3 separate regions of the Homo sapiens genome follow, and regions 1 and 2 are each linked to region 3. Evidence: promoter capture Hi-C in 16 types of primary human blood cells and fetal thymus (Javierre and others, 2016). All regions are on one chromosome and are shown on one strand. The core of a region is centred on a gene start or on the middle of the fragment in contact, and the rest is flanking DNA. Distances in the headings are between cores, read along the strand shown.

The links. The method cuts DNA at HindIII sites, captures the fragments that hold promoters and counts their contacts. A CHiCAGO score of 5 or more calls a contact.
Region 1: a contact is called between a fragment that was not itself captured here and the fragment with the promoter of HNRNPDL in region 3, in 1 of 17 cell types (total CD4 T cells). The highest score is 5.1, in total CD4 T cells.
Region 2: a contact is called between a fragment that was not itself captured here and the fragment with the promoter of HNRNPDL in region 3, in 1 of 17 cell types (fetal thymus). The highest score is 8.3, in fetal thymus.

Annotation. Positions count from the first base shown.
Region 1 is chr4:75,665,242-75,669,855 of GRCh38, reverse strand. The region is part of intron 1 of G3BP2 (G3BP stress granule assembly factor 2); the gene reads left to right. Among named protein-coding and RNA genes, the nearest start is that of G3BP2, 5.9 kb to the left of the region's middle. The HindIII fragment of the contact is 4,261 bases long and covers 1-3,706 here.
Region 2 is chr4:77,151,744-77,156,188 of GRCh38, reverse strand. LOC101928864 (a long non-coding RNA gene) reads left to right here. Exons shown (of 2, transcript XR_244659.5): 1 at 1-919; 2 at 1,213-1,435. Among named protein-coding and RNA genes, the nearest start is that of CCNG2, 3.2 kb to the left of the region's middle. RefSeq lists a silencer at 1,766-1,835 and an enhancer at 3,546-3,595. The HindIII fragment of the contact is 2,089 bases long and covers 2,022-4,110 here.
Region 3 is chr4:82,428,142-82,433,096 of GRCh38, reverse strand. HNRNPDL (heterogeneous nuclear ribonucleoprotein D like) reads left to right here and starts at 2,635. Exons shown (of 8, transcript NM_031372.4): 1 at 2,635-3,849; 2 at 4,651-4,819; 3 at 4,918-4,955. The coding sequence starts at 3,407. ENOPH1 (enolase-phosphatase 1) reads right to left here and starts at 2,507. Exons shown (of 6, transcript NM_021204.5): 1 at 2,184-2,507. The coding sequence starts at 2,267. RefSeq lists enhancers at 1,917-2,016, 2,380-3,175, 3,327-3,416, 3,737-3,796, 3,176-3,971 and silencers at 2,257-2,576, 2,697-3,096, 3,467-3,706, 4,017-4,186. The HindIII fragment of the contact is 3,206 bases long and covers 1,775-4,955 here.

The DNA of each region.
Region 1 (4,614 bases), core at 327-2,826, 6.8 Mb after region 3:
CTCCCGAAGTGCTAGAATTACAGGCGTGAGCCACTGCACCCGGCCTCTTTTTCCTTTTGTAGTTTCTGGTACATACATAGTAGCCATAAAATAAATGTTGAAATGAATTTATTTTGTATAACCCATTGACTCAGCTTGTGGATGGGAATGAATGAAGTAAGACAAAGGCGCAGAGAGTGAAATTGCAGAGAATAATATTAGGTGATTAAAATATTTGTATAGAATTTGATACAGGGATGAGAAAGTATAGTAGGAGATAAATTTGAAAGGTTGGTTATGACATTGAATGTCAGACTGGATTTCTGTGTAGGGCCTTAGATGCCAAACTGAATGCAGGTGTTTGGATTTTACTCAGTACAGTATATACTACACGTGATACAGGGGCTTGAAAGACTTTTGAAGAATAAAAGGTCTGAACAGTGGGAGTGAAAAGGAGGGCACAAATTCCACCTTCTGAATTGTAAGGATTTCACAGTTTAAGTGGCAAAGCTAAAGGGGAGAAAGTCACGACTGAGCTTTCAAGTTGAGAAGATTATGACACTTTTAACAGAAATAAGGAAATAGCTTTCTTTGGTGCATGCGTGTATTGGGACATATGTGGGTCATGTCTAGGTGTTCAGTATGTGGTGACAAATGTAAAATTTGAACTTATGGTATAGACTAGATACACGTTTAGGTAGACATGAGACCAGAAGCTGAAATTGCCAGGTTAGAAGACAGAACCTTGAGAAATTCTGCGTTTGGATGAGAAGGAAAATTTGCCTTATAGAACTCTAGAAGAGTTAGGAGGAGGTAGTCAACATTGATAATGCAGATGGGTGGAGGATTGAGAAGTCATTCGATTATTGAGAAGAATTGTGATGTTTCCAGAGAATTGCATTCAAAGGAGAGCTGAGTTATAATATTTGAGAGGGGAATAGAAGATGAAGACAGGTGTACAGTTAGTAATTTAGGGCAGAGCATGATCAATAAACTGCTATGATAAAGGCCAAAAGTGCTTTAAGAGTTAATAGAGAAGAGTTATATTCTGTTGAGGAATTCAGTAGGAGTAGAAAGATTTTCAAGGGGACAGGATTTCTGCTGGGCCCAGATAAATGCATAGGGTTTCAATCATTGCAGATAGGAAGGTGTGAGATGAGTATTGGAGGAGAAGTCAAAAGTCCTGCTTCTTGTTAACAGACTTTTAGGATCTTAGTGTTGGAATGGCCTAATCTTACTTTTTTGGATGTATGGACTCTACTATGTTTGTGCCAAACCATTCAGTTAGTCTCTGGAATACCTGTAGTGACTGGCTACTTGTTAAGTAGCTCTATTTGATATTTGGACAACTCGCGTTATTCTTGTGTTATGTTTCACCCAAATCTACCTTCTTATAATTTCCATTCACTATATTCAATTAGCAATCAACTCATTTTAGATATTACATCTAAATTAATGTAGCCTAAGATTGATTGTTTTGGAGGCAGCCCCATTATAGTAGTGATTCACTGAACTTTAAATGGTAAACAAAAAACCTAAATGTTTCTTACCTAAAAGGTGACGTTTTAGTCAAAGTTTGAGGAAAGGAGAGTGATAACTTTGGTTTTTACGTTATTTTGAAACTGAGGAAATATAAGTTCATTGTAGGATAATGAAGCTCAATGTGACTTTCTTTTCTAATCTGCATGTATGTCTACCAATGCTCCACTCCCTCTCAGTGTGTATTATCTACCAATACTCCACTCTCTCTCAATGTGTATAATTAATAGATTCAGAAAATATGGTGACAAATATAGAGCAATTTTCCGTGAGAGCTGAAGTGCATGTGCTTCAGGAATTAGGCAAATGCAGAGGAAACATTTTAAGAAACAGGAATGAATAAAATATTCTGATGAAGATTCACTGGGATTTTAGGTGCGATAGGCAGAGTTGGAGAGTAAAAAGCCTCTAAACTATACTGGATAATGTTTTCGGTTTTTTGTTTTTTGAGACAGAGTTTCGCTCTTGTTGCCCAGGCTGAAGTGCAAGGGTGTGATCTCAGCTTACTGCAACCTTTGCCTCTGAGTTCAAGCAATTCTGCTGCCTTAGCCTCCTGAGTAGCTGGGACTATAGGCGCGTACCACCAGGCCTGGCTAATTTTTTGTATTTTTAGTAGAGACGGGCTTTCACTGTGTTAGCCAGGATGGTCTCGATCTCCTGACCTTGTGATCCTCCTGCCATTGCCTCCCAAAGTGCTGGGAAGTAGGCATGAGCCACTGCGCCTGGCCTTGGATAATGTTTTCATTTGACAAGTAAAAGACGGATTTGTTCATGAGAGAGCTTTGACTGTGTATAGAGCTAATGTATCAGATAAAATTTTACACTGTGCATTCCTGTGTGAGATTCTTCACATTTTCAGGTGTCATTGGAAGAAGTGGAGTGTGATATATTGTATTTAACTTTTTCTAAAAAGGTTGTTAGGTGAGGCTAACAACCACCTTATTGAAGATGGTAGTTATCTTTGAAGGTGCTAATCTAAGAACTTTCTAAAGATTTCTTTTTGTGTATAAGTATCCTTTAATCTTGGCTATCTTTTTTTTTTTTTTTTTAAACAGTGTCTCACTCCTGTTACCCAGGTTTGAGTGCGGTGGTGCCATCTTGGCTCGCTGCAGCCTTGACTTCCCGGGCTCAGGCATTCCTCCCACCTCAGCTTCCCGAGTAGCTGGAGCTACGCTTGCACACTACCACGCCCCGCTAATTTTTTGTATTTTTTAGTAGAGACGGGGTTTTGCCATGTTGCCTGGGCTGGTCTCAAACACCTGAGCTCAAGCGATTCACCCACTTTGGCCTCCCAAAATATTGGGATTACAGGTGTGAGCCACTGCACCAGGCCTTCTTGGCTATCTTTGTAGAACTGTATAGTCTTGTAGGCTTGACCGGGGATTTCTTCTCAATTTGTAAACTAGGAAATCGAGATCCAGTAAGGTCATGAGTTTTTCATGGCCATGGATAAGATAGTTGAAACCTTTTACTCCCATATTCAGAATTTTGTTTCGTTTTGTTAACTTTTTTTAAGAAATGGAAGGTCCCAGATCTAGAAATGGATTACCTGTAAGATGATTTGCTATGAATAATAAAAATGGCACAATTCTTTCTTCTTGTAATCACTTTTATTCTGAAAGTGTAATTTGGCTTTTTTCCTTTTTCTCAACCTTCTTACGTACACTGCATGAATTATAAATACGAACTTTATATTACTTACTCAATTTTCATAGTCTTATTTCCTGCAATACCCAAACCACGTTGTTTGATGGTTGATCTCTAGTAGTCATTTTCTGGTTGATTTCTATCAATTATATTTTGGCTCTCTAAATTCTGAGTCACTTCAAATCGGAGTTATGGTTAAAGAAGTAACTGATGTAATTAGTTGAAACACTGTTCTCTCAGTAAATCTTGATTTTGTTTTACCATTCCTTTGGGAGCCTCCTCTGCACCTTAAAAGCTCAGCTTTCTATATAACCTGTTATATGCCTGTTTAGATTTTACCAGATTAGCATTGCCTTACTTATTTACCATTTGAAGTTAACTTTTCAAGTTACTGCCTTCCAATAGTTCTAAGTATTAATTTATTGAGTATTGATTAATCAAATATTACTTCTACTGCCCTTCCCTGTCTCTCTGTTCTAAATTGATGGTATGTTGGCCATTATACTTCAGTGACCATGTAGATAGTGGGCAATTTGAAGCTTTTTTTGAACCTTGTTACAACAAATCTTTAGAGCATTTTGACCTGTGATATTATATATGTATTATGTACCATTTTATTTTGGTTTGAGAAACAAATATGTAAGTGACAAAAATGATAGATCAGTATGTACTCTATGAATATGATGGGAAATTTGGGATAAATGACAACAGTGTTCCTGTAGAAAATCTGGAAATCCAGAGAGAAGAAAACAATTCCCAAACCCGGAAATTCCTAATAGTATTTCTGTCACTATCAATTTAAAGAAAACTATTTTGTGTATAGTTATTTTGTTCAGAGAGTAATGTAGTATTTTCCCATGTGTTAGTATTATTTTACCATCAGTTTTTATGGTGTTAAAATACATATAATTTCCATGTTTTAGTTATCTTGTTAAATTTTACCAGGTAAGTCTACTGTTCTTTACCCACCCTCATTATTCAAAATAAAAATGTTAGTTGCTTAGCTGTGTGTGTGTGTGTGTGTGTGTGTGTGTTTGTTTGTGTGTTTGTGTGTGTGTGTGTGTTTGTGTGTTTGTGACTACAGGTGTGCACCACCATGTCTGGCTAATTTTAGATGGGGTTTTGCCTTGTTGCCCAGGCTGGTCTTCAGCTCCTAAGCTCAAGCAGTCTGCCCACTTCGACGTCCCAAAGTGCTGGGATTACAGGCGTGAGCCACAGCCCAGTGCTTTGTTACTTTAAATGTAGCATATGTGAGTCCTTTTTGCACTAGGGTTGTTACCCTTATTGGGAGTTTTAAGTTTTCTGGAAAATCAATGACACCTGAAATGGCAGTATTTGGATCTGCTCTTTGTGAATTAACTATTTTTGAAAGCAAGTGAGGCATTATAAAAAATTTTAAACAGATTTGGGGATTTTTGTAAATCAAGTTTGAGAGTTTAAGAAGGACAG
Region 2 (4,445 bases), core at 1,817-4,316, 5.3 Mb after region 3:
ACGGCGTACCTCCAGAGGTTGTAGTGCTGTTGTTTTAATGAAGACTCCCAGAGCTTCTTGGTCCTTGGTAACCCATAAATTATCATTTATTGTTCATTATAATTAGCGTTGTTATTATAGGCGACACGTCTCCCAGGACGGGACAAAAAGCAAACAAACCAGGTGCCTTAGGCCAGAGACACTTTCACACGGAATATCAATGGGGCATGTGGTTGACTGCCCTGGAACATTTATTTGTTTACTCTCTCCCTCCTAAATTAGAAAATACCATATTCGTGAGTTCTAATCTACATAATCAGATAGTCCCTGGGAAGAGATTTCTCCTTTCTGTTCTTCTATGTGTTTTCTGTGAATTATTTTGTTACTTGTGAAATATGGGAAGGCACACAACATAGCTTTGGCAGCGCTCTTCTTTGCGGAGCAGCTAAGGAATTTTAAAACTAGGTCCCTTTGCATATTAGCTCGGACTAAACACAGGCATCTGTTTGGAGCACAGAGCAACTGGGGGAAGGCAGCCCAAAAAGCTAACACTTATTTCAGAGAGGTGTGAGCTTGGTGAGGGTTTTGGAAAATAAGATAAAATTAGCACACCAGTTTTAAATGATTTACAGGCTACATAATTTTATCCAATGCTTGTTTTATCTTTTAAACATTAAGTGATAACTTTTATTTGACATAATCATCTTGCTGGAAATCTATGCTGATAAACATAATAGGAGCATGAAACTAACTTAGAGACTAGAGCTAAGATTAAAATTACAGAGATGACAGCTCATTGTACAGAGCATCAATAGGCTGAGTGGACAGGGCCCACAGACAGAAAGCAGCTCGACCAACTATCCACCATCAGAGAAATGAAGAGTTTGTGATCAAAGCATGAAGGAGACTGGGGATGTTTTTTTCAAGTAAGAAGGCAAAGGTAAAAAAGGAACATACGTTATTTTATAAGTGATGTGAAAGAGGAAATGCAAATTTATGTGGTAGAAGACTTTAAAAATAACAGACTATATAAAACAAAAAGGAAAAGATTTAGAAATTGTCCTTTGCTTAGGCTACATAATTTTATCCAATGCTTATCTGATCTTTTAAACATAAATAAGTGATAACTTTTATTTGACATAATCATCTTGCTGCTTAGCACTAAATGATATGAAGCTATACTAAATGTGTACTCTATATTTCATAACTGGTATTTTATGTGTCCTTTTACAGACAGCCTCTTGAATGATGTGAACAGTGATGGCTTTCTCTGAGAGTAAGACAAGAAAGCTTTGTAAATGGCGTTGAATTTCCTGCTCTTGGCAGGCCCTGCTCAGCACAGAAGAAAAGACTGATCAAGTTGTCCAAGATGGAGCCCTTTATCCACGTTAGTCCACTTATCTCTTTAAGATTAAAGGAAAGCAATCATTAAAAATACAGATCCAGTAATTATTAATACAGCATCCTCTTTTTTAAACACCTCATTTTAAGAATGATGATATTCTTAGGAAATGGGCTGGGGGATTATGTAGGTTTTCTCTGTTTACTTTGCAGAATTTTTTGTTTGTTAATATATCTTTTAAAAAAAAATTCTCCTCATTCTATTTGTCCTTATCACATTGGCTTACCTTGCCGGAGCTGAAAGTGTTATTTATGAAAAAGACATTATTCCCCTTAGGCTAATCAGGCTTTACCCATTAGCCTTTCCTGAGCTTTCTGGAAGGCAAATTTCCTGTATCATGCACACATACAAAATAAGGAAATCAGAAACTTGGCAGCCCCCAAGAACTTCCAGACAATTTAAGATACTTGGTTTTCTACAGCATGTGGTAGGGGTGCAGTGGGGTTGGGTGATACTGTCACCAATAACCCCATGAAAGCCTGATGTGCAGCCCATTGTCCTCAGTGACATGTGAGACTGAAACTAAAAGGTGCTCACAGAATGGGTAATAAGCAGGGAGTGCCCACACAGAAACACTGACTACATTCAGTGAATCCCTGACTCCTGACAAGTGTGCTGCAAACCTGCTCACACTTAAGCTTCTACCTTGAAAATAGGGCACTCTCATGGGACAGTTGCAGTGCTTCCCTAAATGACTTAGACTTCCCTGAACTTCATAAGGCATCAAAATTGCTACAATTTTCCAAATATCATCTTTCTCCTCAAAGATATGGTTTTTGACAATAAATCCTAGCTTTTTATTCAATCGAAATTTAGTGAATACACACTGAGTGCCAGGCATGCTACTAGGCACCAGGAATACAAAAATACATAAATAAAACAAGGCCCCAGCATATACCCTGGTATGTCTGAGGTGTAGGGCAAAAGCACTGGCCATGGATCAAACTGGCTTTGTGTCTCAGCTTTCCTACTCATTAGAAATGGTGCCTTGAATACCCTGAATAATTCCCATGGTCTTGAGCCTCAGCTTTCTAAACTGAGGAAAACAAAAAGCCAGAGGTAGTTGTGTCTGCTTCATATGTGATGACTGAATACAAACATTTGTGAAAGCAACTAGCTATATATTTCTAGGCTGCACCATGTTGTGACTTCATGAAGGGAAAGGAAGGGATCATCCCTAACCTCATCAAAGAAGTCTGGTGGAAAGCAGCCCTGAAAGGAAAGAACCTGAGGATAAGGATACGTAAAGCTGACATGAGGCCATACTCCCCCTCCCCGTCTACTCACTATTGCTGGGTCCCTGCCTGGGCTGTTTTCTGTCATTAGGCTGAGCACAGTGGTTCATACCTGGAATCCCGGCACTTTGGGAGGCTGAGGTGGGAGGATCACTTGAGCCCAGGAGTTCAAGACCAGCCTGGGCAACATAGCGAGACTTCATCTCTACAAAAAATTTTAAAAATTATCTGGGCGTGGTGGCATGCACCCGTAGTCCCAGCTACATGTGAGCCTGAGACAAGAAGATTGCTTGAGCCTGGGAGGTCTATGCTACAGTGAGCCATGATCATGTCACTGCACTCTGGCCTGGGCAACAGAGCAAAACCCTGTCTCAAAAAAAAAAAAAAAAGTGGTTTGCAGCCCCAAACTTCCTGCTTAGATAAGTCTTGCTTCACAGAACCTGCAATGGAGACAGGAATGCCTCTCTGAGGAAGAGAAACAGGGAAGGTATAGCATAGTAGCATAGGGTGCTATCTTGAAGTAATGCAGATTTTTCAACCAAGAGCTCATTTTTAAATCAGAACCTGGAAGAATGAGATGATTTATATAGCAGATGATTAATCTCTGTCTTCAAGCAATCAGCAGAATAAGTCAGTGAAACATCTCATATATTCTCCTTTCTGATTTTCCCACAAACAAGACCATCTCAAATTTGAAATCAACATTTTACAATCCATTTACTATATATTTTGTTGCTTTTGTTGTTAATGCTAGAAGCATGCCCTGTTTTTTTGGAAGAGTGTTTATGCAAGGGTTGGCCATATTCATAAACATTCATAGTGTTTATCTACGTAGGGTTGGCTTTGGAATTGTGGAAATTATCCACACTGTAGACACCATCTGAATGACTACAGCAAGAGGACCAGTTTTTCCAGCCAGCCACTTTAGTCCCTCCCAGTTCTACTAGCCTGCAAGAGAGTAGCCTTGTAGGAACTATCTCTGCAACCTGAGAACTTGAGAACTAAATGCTCGGTTGACTCTGAAGCCCGACTCAGTACTTTGTTATCCAGTGCTCTCTCTTTTACACGAATAATCAACTGAAATAAATGAAGTAGCTTTGACATAATGTGAAAAGCCTGGCAAAGGAGAGTGAACTGAGAATTCGGCAATGCCTGAAATCAGAACTAATCATCTCAAAATCATCTTAAAATATATTTTAAGTGGCTCAGGCTACATTCTGGTACATTGTACATGATTCTTTATGTAACACATTTTTCTTTCATGGTTTGTTTCAAGAACCATGACCTAACTCAGAGATTTCCTGTCTTTCCTTGACATCACAGTGCTATATGAAGTTGACACTGTCAGCAAAGAGTAACTTAGGATACATCTGTTGAATGTATCATCTTATTTCCAAAAGAAGTTTTACTGTCTGTGAGAGTCATGATCTCTTTTTTTATCTCAAATGAAAAGGCAATTGATGTTTAAAGTGATATGGATAAGTGGTATAAGCTTAAAATTTGCTTCTGTTAACATTTTAAAGTGTTTTCAAAATGAAATTTTTTTTTTAACTTTAAAAAGAAAGACTGCTGTTGAAACCCTGTCTCTACTAAAAATACAAAAATTAGCTGGGTGTGGTGGCACACACCTGTAGTCCCAGCTACTTGGGAGGCTGAGACAGGAGAATCACTTGAACCTGGGAAGTGGAGGTTGCAGTGAGCCAAGATCACGCCACTGCACTCCAGCCTGGTGACAGAGCGAGACTCCGTCTCAGAAAAAAAGAAAGACTGCTTTATATCAAAGATCCTCAGGTCTGTTTAATTACGTATATTTTTATGTTTTCAACCAC
Region 3 (4,955 bases), core at 1,386-3,885:
AGAGAGCCAGAGTGGAACGAGTGAGCTGTTAACTATAAATTACAAAAATGAGGACTCCTTTTTTCTCTGAAAACCAAGAAAGCGGTTACTCTGTCACAATCCAAAAAAAAAGGAAATTAATCAATCATCAGTATTTGTCCTGAAATTTTCCGCAGAGGTCTCTGGTGTGATTAAAAACGTGGGGGAAGGTCAGGCGCGGTGGCTCGCGCCTATAATCCCAGCACTTTGGGAGGCCGACACGGGAGGATTACCTGAGGTCAGACCAGCCTGGTCAACTAAAAATACAAAAATTAGCCGGGCGTGGTGGTGCGCGTCTGTAATCTCAGCTACTCGGAAGGCTGAGGCACCAGAATCGCTTGAACCCCGGAAGCAGAGGTTGCACCACTGTATTCCAGCCTGGGAGACAGAACAAGACTCTGTCTCAAACAAAACAAAACAAAACAAAACAAAACGTGGGGAAGAGGCCGGGTGCCATGGTTCACGCCTGTAATTCCAGCACTTTGGGAGGCTGAGGTGGGTGAATCACTTGAGGTCAGGAGTTTGAGACCAGCCTGGTGAAACCCTCTTCTACTAAAAATATAAAAATTAGCTGGGTGTGGTGGCACATGTCTGTAATCCCAGCTACTGGAGAGGCTGCGACAGAAGAATCGCTTGAAGCTGGGAGGCAGAGGTTGCAGTGAGCTGAGCTCACACCACTGCACTCCAGCCTGGGCAACAGAGCGAGACTCCGCCTCAAAACAAAAACAAAAACCGTGGAGAAAATGCTAAACTCGATTTCTTCTGAACCTATGCTAAGATGTCAAGGTACTGTGATTCTTCTAAAAGAATTTTAAAGGTTGTTATGTTTGGTGTCCTAAAAGTGTACATGGATTTTATATTATAACCTACATCAAGAAACTCATTCAGGCCAGGCGCCTTGGCTCATGCCTGTAATCTCAGCACTTTGGGAGGCCAAGAATTCCAGACTAGCCTGGGCAATATGGCGAAACCCCGTCTCTACAAAAAATACAAAAATTAGCCAGGCATGGTGGCTCTCCCTTCAGTCCCAACTACTCGAGAGGCTGGGGCAGGAGGATGCCTTAAGCCCAAGGAGGTAGAGGCTGCAGTGAGCTGTGATTGCACCACTCCACTCCACTCCAGCCTGGGAACAGAGTGAGACTCTCAAAGAAAAAAAAAAAAAAGCCTTATTCACAGATAATTTTTTTTAAAAATGGAAACTAAAATAGAATTTAAAACCCAAGCTGCTCAGTTTCTTGGAAGATGGATTTTTCCTACTTGGTAATATACTTTGTATATCTCGACTATTATTGTGCATGCAAGCACCTCTAAGAAGTACTTGTATCTGCAATGAATTCTTAAACCTCAGGGAGCCAAATAAAAAGACAAGGCCCGAGGAATTCTTTCAAAAATTAAAGTAACATTTCATATTTGCTTATTCTAACAGACAAAGAATAAAGAAGGAATCCGCTAAGTTGCAAGCTGAGGTGCAGACAAGTGCTGGTTCACAGTGACATCCTAGAAGGAATGCTCTGGATAAGAGCTTCAAGCTTCTGTGGTTTTCTGAGGAAAGTGAACGGAATCTAGACGTGTCCTATAGCTCAAAAAATCAGCGCTATGGACCACAGCGCCTAACAGAGTAAAATAATACACTGTGCAGTTTGGCCACTAACAGCAAGAGTGGGAAGGGGCGAAGAGGAACCTTGATTGCCCGACACCAGGGCCACCTGAAAAGTCATCTTGACACTTCAGTCTTTCCATTTTGAGATCGGAAGCTTTAAGGACCATTAAATCGCTGCCGCTGCCACACCAGGCCCGACGGAGCAGAAAGGCTGCGCTCACCTGCGGAAGCGACCGGGTGCACACCTGCCGGGTGGCGAGGCCCGCACCGTCACACCCCGCCCCGGCTTACCTGCCCTTCGGTGATTTTTAGCGTCAACTTCCATCCCTTCCCACCCATCTGGATCCAACCAAGCGCAAGGGCGGGGGAGGGAGAAGCTAGTGTCGCGAGGAAAAGCATCCCCGCAACCCACCGCAGGCTTTCTCTCCTTCCTCCCCATTCCACACAAGAGGCAGCCACACCGCCTCTCCTAACCCTCGTCTCCAATGCAAGGCCTGAAATACTTAGAAAAAATAATAACTGTTTTTAAGGAAAAGTAACATCCCCGCTCCCTTCCGCCCCTCACCTTCACGAAAGCAATCGGGGTTGTGGTACCTTCGATATCTAACAGGATCACGGTGACTTCGGCGGGGACCGAAAGCACGACCATTTCCCTACCGGATGCTACGGGACTCGGCCTGCTGTTGGGGAGGGCGGAGGGCGGCGCCGGCTGCGGCTGCGGCCCCCGGTACCGTCTTGGGCTTCCGGCGGCCCCGCGCGATCTCGGAGCCAGCGACCAAGTGCAGCCCGCCGCGCGTGGGGAGAGGACACTTCTGCACACCTGGAACTGGAAAAGGCGGCCGCCCAGGAGCCCTGAACTCGTGAGCAGGACGGGGCAGGAGCCCGAGACCACGTGGGCAGGAAAAGGGGCGGCCCTTGACGGGTTCGGCGGGGCGGGGAGGGTGAAGGCGCCAGCGCCGATTGGCCGCCGTCAGGCCTCGAACTGGATCCGTCAAAATGGGCCTCGCGTGGGCGGGAACAAAGAAGCGAACGCGGGAGCAGGGTGCGCGAGAGCGCGCCCTCCGCAGACAGGTTGAGCGAGCGGGAGAGGCCCGGGGCACGTGCAGAAAGGAGCCCCGCGAGTGGCGCGCCGGGGATGTGAGTGCCCCTTGCCCTCTACTGAATCCAGCCCCCTCCCCGCCCACCGCCTCCGCCTTTGCATAGATACAGTCATCTGGCCAGCCCCCGCCCCTCCTCCCGGCGTCAGCCCGCCAGAGGCCGCGCGGGGCCCGGGCTTCGGCCGATCAGCCCGGGAGGCCCCGCCGCGCCCCCTTGGCCCGCGCGCCCGTGGTCACAGTGGAAGAGGCGCCCGCGCTGCGCTGCCCGGAGGAGCCGTCGCGCGCCCGCTTCCTGTTCGGCTGGTTCCTGCCAGCTCGAGGACAAAACACGCGTGCGCGCGGCGGGCGAGCGCGCTCGCCGCCTCAGTCGCCAGCGCCGGGCGCAGTCCGCCTTTTTCCGGAGCAGACTGGCCGCGGTGCTAGTCGGTAGCAGCGGCCGCCGCAGCGGCTCCGCACTGGCGAACCGAGGGCAGAAAAAGGCGGGGTTGACGGCTTTTTGGTAGGAGTGGGCTGGACCGGACGCCAGAGACAAAGGCTCCCAAGGCAAGAGGGACTGTGGCCCTGCGTCGGCTCTGCTCGGGACTGCTGACCCCAGGAATTTACGCCCCTTCGTTTTTCTCTTCTGATTCTTCTCTTCTCCCAAGCCCGCGTCCCCTCACGCGTGGCCTCTCTCCTTGCCGGGAGGGCCGCGATGGAGGTCCCGCCCAGGCTTTCCCATGTGCCGCCGCCATTGTTCCCCTCCGCTCCCGCTACTTTAGCCTCCCGCAGCCTCTCCCATTGGCGGCCGCGGCCGCCGCGGCAGCTAGCCCCGCTCCTCCCTTCGCTCGCTCCCAGCTCCGCCCGGCAGGGGGCGCGCCGGGCCCAGCGCCACGTCACCGCCCAGCAGCCCTCCCGATTGGCGGGCGGGGCGGCTATAAAGGGAGGGCGCAGGCGGCGCCCGGATCTCTTCCGCCGCCATTTTAAATCCAGCTCCATACAACGCTCCGCCGCCGCTGCTGCCGCGACCCGGACTGCGCGCCAGCACCCCCCTGCCGACAGCTCCGTCACTATGGAGGATATGAACGAGTACAGCAATATAGAGGAATTCGCAGAGGGATCCAAGATCAACGCGAGCAAGAATCAGCAGGATGACGGGTACCGCACGCTTCTTCCCCCGCTCCCCCTCCCCCAGCGCGCCGCACGCGCCCTTCGTTCCTCGTGAGCCGCGCGCTGCCCCCATTCTTTCTCAGAGTCGATTCCCCGCGTGCCTTCTGGGCCCCACTAGATTGGAGGGAAGAGGAAAGTAAGAGATCGAGGGGGTGACTGGAGAGACCCGGGAAGAGTGGGGGAAGGGCGGAGGGGTTGGAGGAGGAGGGCGGCGGCGTCTGTGTCCCGAGCGCGCAGGCGCCGCGTGGGACCCGGGGGGGAGGGGCCGGCCTCCCAGCGCTGCACGCTGCAGCTGCCGCCGCCTCTTCATTGTGTCTCTGTTACCACTCGGCGCGGTTTTCCTGGGAAGAGTTTTAGAGGACTGAGTTGGGGCACAAGCAGGCGACTGGTACCCAGATTCACAAAACGTGTTATGATTGATGAGTTCTCTGGGTGGAACGTTGGCTTGACAGCTGAGAACGAAGATGGACCTAAGTAAGATAAGATGTGAGGGATTCATCTAGGAAGTTGTGCCTTCTACCTAAAGGAATCTGGGCAGAACCTTTACTGTATTTTATTGGTCTCTTTTGAGCTTTGCTTTATGTAGTGCGGACAGTGAGCTGTCCGCTGGTTTGAGTAACTTCGTTGGGATATTGGGATTTTTGTGTGACATAGATTAAATGTAAACATGAATTAAATTGCCTACACTTAGGGGGTAAATGTCCCTGTTTTTATTTCACGATTTAATTCCAGAACTGAAGGATCATTTGAGTTATTGTTAATTTTTTTTAAAAACACTTTTATTTCTAGTAAAATGTTTATTGGAGGCTTGAGCTGGGATACAAGCAAAAAAGATCTGACAGAGTACTTGTCTCGATTTGGGGAAGTTGTAGACTGCACAATTAAAACAGATCCAGTCACTGGGAGATCAAGAGGATTTGGATTTGTGCTTTTCAAAGATGCTGCTAGTGTTGATAAGGTAGGAACTATGTTTTGCATTGTGCTGCTTTTGTGGTGTTTTGCAAATTTTTCTGGGGGTTATATGGTGCTGTCAGATTAAATAAATCTGTCTTGTAGGTTTTGGAACTGAAAGAACACAAACTGGATGGCAAATT